Linked DNA regions of Homo sapiens: region 1 is linked to region 2. Evidence: promoter capture Hi-C in human tissues and cell types (Jung and others, 2019). All regions are on one chromosome and are shown on one strand. The core of a region is centred on a gene start or on the middle of the fragment in contact, and the rest is flanking DNA. Distances in the headings are between cores, read along the strand shown. Region 1 has its middle 34 kb from the start of VOPP1-DT. Region 2 holds the start of LANCL2 (LanC like glutathione S-transferase 2).

Region 1 (3,114 bases), core at 118-2,617, 240 kb before region 2:
CTGAGTTGTGTGATTTTGTGATGGATATTTCAAGACTGAAATGTATTGGTACAGCAAAGCCAGGGTCATGAAATTAGTCTTACAAATAAGCTGTTTGGGGTGGTAGGTAAGCTGTTTTAGTCGGTTTACAATATTATTTCTGAAAGCAGTGATTCCTAGAGCAAATAGCTAAGTTATTTTTACTTGTTTTCAGTATTGTTTAAGCCAGGAAAGTATGCCTAATCTCAGAATTGTTTAACATAAAGACACAGAATTACGTTGGTTTCAATCCTCATGACATCGAGGGAAAAAAACCCAAATTAATATCTCAGAAAGTTATCCTGCCACTGAAGTATTAGCAAAAGTCCTTCCCATTCCATCTAGCCTTTCCGTAAATGAAACTACTACCACTTTCAGCTTCAAATTTCTACAAATACATTTCTACAAGATGAACATGCTAAGGCCTTTTAGTCAATATACTGAAGTCAATAGAAACTGTGTCAATGATTCTCTAAAATACTATACTAAAGAGAAAAAACTATGTTTGAAGCAGAAGCCAGATAGATATTTAACTTCTTCCAGCTGTGGTTTCCTTAGTCAAAATAATATTATCATTATTGTGGGCATTAAAGACATAATGCATATGTATTCAGAATAATTTTGGGTGATTTTAAAGTAATGCATTTTTTACTTCAGAAATTATTAGTTCCAAATCGTTCCCACAACTCACAGATATTAAGTGATATCAGAAAGAGAGTTTCTTCTATAACGAAACAAAAAATCCCTCATCCATTCTGACGGCTCTCCAAGGAGGCTTGCTGCCCCATGGTAAAAGAAGTTATGACATGAAAGAAGAAAATGAATCCCATATTTTCTAGAATAAGGGGTTATAAAGAGGTCAGAATGAGAGCAAAGAGGTTAGGCACCAGGGTTCTCATTTATCCTCTTCTATTGTGGTTGTTAAAGATTCTAGAAACATCCTGATGAGAATGGGAGAGTTCAAGAACTCCAGGGCTAATGGCTGTCTTTCTTGGGTGCACGAGTGACAAAGATTTCCTCCTTGACCAAATTTTAGTTAGGCTCCTCTGAGCCTTCTTGACTAAGCCTCTACTTTGGTCTGTCTTTAATAAGAATCCTGCTAATTCAGTTTAGTGAGAATCCTTCACCCTTGATATCTGATCAAGTTCTTCACTTCTCACCCTTGATGTCTAAATCCTTAGCCTGCCTTTAGCAAGAATCCCTCTGCCCTCTCCTTTTAGTAGTTTTGCATCCACTGATGCCTTCATTGTGCTTGTTGGCTGTAACTTCCAACTCCTGTCTTTATTGTATTTGGAGTTGAGCTCAATTTCTCTTCTTTATTGCTAAGTCATGACCCCTCTTACAATAGTTTTGAATAAATCTCACTTACCATTTTTAACAGTGTCTGAATAATTTTTCTTGAATATGAAGGGCACAAAAAGCTAAGAAAATTCTAGATGCAGCCATTTCTGCAATAGTGTGGAATAATGATGGACCAGCAGCAGTAGAAAGTGTTCAACCTCATGAGCCTAAAGAGAGTTTCCTATTCCTGTGTCTTGTGTGTGGTGTACTGGGGTTCCAGAAGCTCTCACTTGTCCTTTTAAGGACACAAGAAGAACCATACATACCTCATAGTAACCATACCCCATAGTAACCAGTCCAGGGCCACCATGGACCAGTCACTCTATAACAGAGATGGTAATGGTTCAGAAATCTTGGCTCAGATTTGAGACCAACATATCCCATCCCCTCTGAAATGAAAGGACAGGAATTGCTTTGTTTATGTGCATATGTTTTGTTCATGTCTGTATCTCCAACTTATTTTTTTGTTTTTAATACAATTTATTTAATTGTATGTTTATATAATTATATAATGGCCAGATTTAACAATTGGCTTGCACAATTCCTGAAATTTTAACAATCACTTCTTATGAACCTGAATAGACCAGCTCCAGCACAGCAATAGTAGTGATTTGAACCAGGCGATGTGAAGTATACATGCCCTAAGAAGTAGGATATCGCCTCTATATTCTAAATAATTAATAGGGCTTGGTATTCTTTTGACATCTCAGACAGCACTGCAGTAAGTACCATGGTCTATAGCTCTGGTTGTATATAAAAATCTCAGTCATCCCAGGTTACAAACAATTGTTTAGCTAACATAATAATATCTTTCATTGTGAAGTATCTTTTTAACCTCAAGATTTAGTATTAGGCACATAAGTGTTTAAGAAAATCTGAATCATGGAATTAATAATTTTTGTTAAAAAAATCTATATTTTGACCTAACATTGTAACTATATATCAGTATTTCATATATATTAATGTATTAGTACTATAATCCAAATTAAAAACTGAAATTTTAGTAGCTGATAAAGATTTAGAATTTTAAGCTGAAAGATTATGACATTTATATTTAATATTATAATATGTAAGAACTTAAATTTATCATATCTATAAGCTTAATTTACTCAATTTATAAAAATGCTTATCTACTTGGGAATATTTGTTATATTAGACAATTGCAAAACAGTATTTTAAAAGGAAGTCAAATATATTATAAATCCAATATAAAATATTAGAGTTTAATTAAGTTTTAAACTGAGATCATATAGTAAAGTCCCCTTAAAATCTTTTATTGAAATACAAAAATAGAATATGAATTTTTAAAACTAAATTTAGAAGTACAAAGAAGGCCAGGCAGGGTGACTCATGCCTATAATTCCAGTACTTTGGGAGGCCGAGGTGGGAGAATTTCTTGAGCCCAGGAGTTCATAACCAGCCTGTGCAACGTAACAAGACCGTGTCTCTAAAACATACCCCATCCCCCCTTGAATTGAAAGGGAAATAATTTTAAAATTTAGCTTGGCATGATGGTGCATACCTGTAGTCCCAGCTATTTGGGAGTCTGAGGTGGGAGGATCACTTGGGCCAAGGAGGTCAAGGCTGCAGTGAAACATGGTTGAGCCACTGCACTCAGCCTGGGTGACCAAGCAAGGCCCTGTCTCACACACACACAAAAAGTACAAAAAAAACCTAGATATTTAAGTATACTGAATGTCAAGTTTTTAAAAGCAAATGCACTTCTGAGCATACAAGTCAATCTCAGTCGGGCAC
Region 2 (2,917 bases), core at 323-2,822:
GCCTCCCCGCACACTTTACTCTCCCACAGCTGCCGCTCTTGGTTCTGCCTAGCACAAAAGTATTTGGGTTTTGCCATTTCTTTGTGTCTTTTTCACGTAAAACATATTCAAGAGATGTATGTTTTTCTGTTGTTAATCTGTTTTATGTCAATGTAACGCTCTGACCCACCTCGCGACACTAAGAAAGTCAAGTTTGGCCTCCCCTTACACCCGCTTCCCATTTCTGGGCACACAGACAGTACGGACAATGCTTCTTTGTCGGCGAGAGCCCAGGGACCAGATATGGCCAAGGAAATCCAGCCTCCAGGCCACTTCTGAGGAGCAGGTAGCCGGCGGAGCGCTCCGCCGCGCAGGGGCGGGAGGTGTCCGCGGGCCTCACGAGTGCACAAGCCCGCATTGCGAAGCGCCGCTCGGGCCAAGAAGGAAAGCGCACTGTCCGCGTATTTCAAAGGCGCGTTGGGGCCAGGAGGGCCGAACTGCTGGAACGTGGTTCATGCAGCTGAAGCCCACGGACCCTAAGCGCGGCTCATCGGGAAGGCCCGGAGACAGGTGCTAGGCGCTATCATCCCGCGCCCTCCCAAGCCCGGCGCGCGCCTGTGACGTCACGCCTGGCGGAAGGTGGACGCTACCACCGCCGCGCTCCCCCTCCGGCGCCTCTGCGGCCAGGCCGCCGACTCACCTTCCCGTCCTGATGAAAAGGGAGGCCGGGCTCATCCGTGGTCGCCGGGGGACGAACACAGCCTGTCTCTTCGGCCGCTCCGGAGGCGAGCAGCGCCCCGGCGGCGGCCTCGTAGTCCGGGAAGGGGTTGACGAACGCCCGTTCCTCCATTTCTGCCTCCCCTCCCAGGTGGAGCTTCAGCCTCTTTGACATGGTCTCGCCCATCTCCGCCGCGGTACGGCGCGCGGGCGGGGACAAACCTCCTGTCCCGGCGCTGCAGCTCGCCCCGCCGCCGCCTCCTCCGAGGGCCCGCGCAGAGAGCGTCCTCTAGGAGGAGCGAGGCCGCGCGCTGGCGGGAGGAGCGGGGCGTCTGAGCGTGCACTGCCTCGTCGCGGGCTGCTCGCACATCAGGCGGCCGCAGAGGCGGTGGGCGCTGTGCCTCTGCCCTGTTCCTGGCGCCTTTGCCCTGCTCCCGACGGAGAGGAGCGGGCTCGCGGGAGCGCCCAGCGGCTCACAGCCTGCTCGCGCCTCCTCGCACCTTCCCCGTGGCCCGCAGAGCCCGTCCGCGGCGACGCGCACGGCCGGGGCTGGAGTCCCGGGGTGGGGATCGCTGCGCCCGGCCAGCCCCCTCCGCGATTTCCAAAGAAAACCGAACGCCCGCTAGGGCCACGCTCCCGCGGGGAAAACCTGTAGAGAAGAGGTCGCTGTCACTCAAGGTGTGTGCGCGTCGCCGACCGGGGCGAGCTCAGCCCCTGGCGCGCCGTCGTCAGCCTGCATTTCACCGGCCCCTGCTGCGCCAGCCCAAAGGAATAGCAGCAGTTCTTTGTTTGATATTAAGAAGAAAAAAAAAATCTCTTCTAAAGAACAGAATTTCAAAACAGTCTAAAACACTGCAAGGCTAGTCTCCGAGGGATGGGGGAGGGAGACAGTCCCTCCTATTCATCACTGTTGGAGGGGGGTGTCTGGGAGGAGGAGCCACAGGCCTTTTTTTTTTTCTTTTTATGTTTTATGTTCACTCCCTTTGTTTTGAATAAATGGACATCTTTGATACCGGGACATAAAATGAAAGCATACTTAATTATCCAAACATTTTATCGACCAGAAAGAGTCCTCCAGTGTTAATTGGCAAAGATCATAGTATGTATTATAAAAAGGACACAAGCAACCAGATCTTTACATTTATGTAATCGTGATGTGGTTTACTTCAGTCTTCATTGGTTCTCTTTATTTTTATTTGTTTGGACCAAATACGTGTAATGATTTCTGCTCCTTGAGGAAAATGTCTTATTTCCGTTTTCTTCCGCTCAGTAAACGTTGATTGAGCACCAAATGGTACTAGGTGATGAAGAAATAAGAGATTAAAAAGATAGTTTTGGCTCTCTGGGGATTCCCAGTTATTGGGTGAGAAAAGCAAGGATTACAGCATAGCTGATGTAGGTGCTTTTCTGGAAGCAAGCAAAAATACACGTTAATGTAAAAAGTGACATGATGAAGAAAAACACAGTGCCGAGCACAGGGAAGGCTCGGTTCCTCCTGCCTCCGTGGCCTCGGTGGAATGATGTGGGAAAGTCTGGCTTCCCACTACCTCTTCTAGTGTCCCCCCAACCCCACAGGGCTGGACATGTGAAACACACCCCACCAAGAACATGACCATGGGAAGGTACAGTGTAGAAGAAAATCATTTTAAAGGGGGTACTCAGCATAACTATCTTCAAAGTTCAGGGAAACAGAACAGATACAACAGGATGAGTGTTATAGCAGCATCCCTTAGCTCCACTTTCCTGCTTTCCCCTTTCCTGGGGTCTTTTCTCCCACCAAATTTTCATACCTAGACGGTGTAGGAAAATCCACTCCAGGAACTACTGATGCCGACATGCTCTAGGAGCCATCCTTATCCCACCACAGGGACTTAACTAGACAAAATAACCCACGGTGATATTCCCCAAAGTCTGGGGAACTATCACGCCTTGGACAGGTACAGCAGAAACGTCCACTGCGGGCTTTGTTAGGCTAAGCCTAGTGAATTCTCAGCTCTCCCTACCCAGGAGGGAGGTGAAGATTGTCTCTTCTTCCTGCAGTCTGCTGGTGGATAACTGGCAACTGTTGGCAAGTACAGAAACCTGTCCTAAAGAAAACCAATATTTTCAAAAGCTGAAAAATCGAAACCCAATTTAAGGAGTCGGCATATTTTCCTAAATGCTCTCTTATCGGCAGATCCCCTGCCCTCCTGGACAGCTCACTGACACTATTTTATGGAGA

What was found. Contacts are between HindIII fragments. The study calls those that stand out against the background at their distance.
Region 1: a contact is called between a fragment that was not itself captured here and the fragment with the promoter of LANCL2 in region 2, in 1 of the 25 tissues and cell types used here (H1 embryonic stem cells).

What each region holds. Positions count from the first base shown.
Region 1 is chr7:55,605,125-55,608,238 of GRCh38, reverse strand. No RefSeq gene overlaps it. Among named protein-coding and RNA genes, the nearest start is that of VOPP1-DT, 34 kb to the right of the region's middle. The HindIII fragment of the contact is 3,413 bases long and covers 1-3,073 here.
Region 2 is chr7:55,363,992-55,366,908 of GRCh38, reverse strand. It overlaps LANCL2 (LanC like glutathione S-transferase 2), which reads right to left and starts at 1,572. Exons shown (of 9, transcript NM_018697.4): 1 at 680-1,572. The coding sequence starts at 883. RefSeq lists enhancers at 108-347, 378-837, 1,458-1,647 and a silencer at 968-1,387. The HindIII fragment of the contact is 20,479 bases long and covers 1-2,917 here.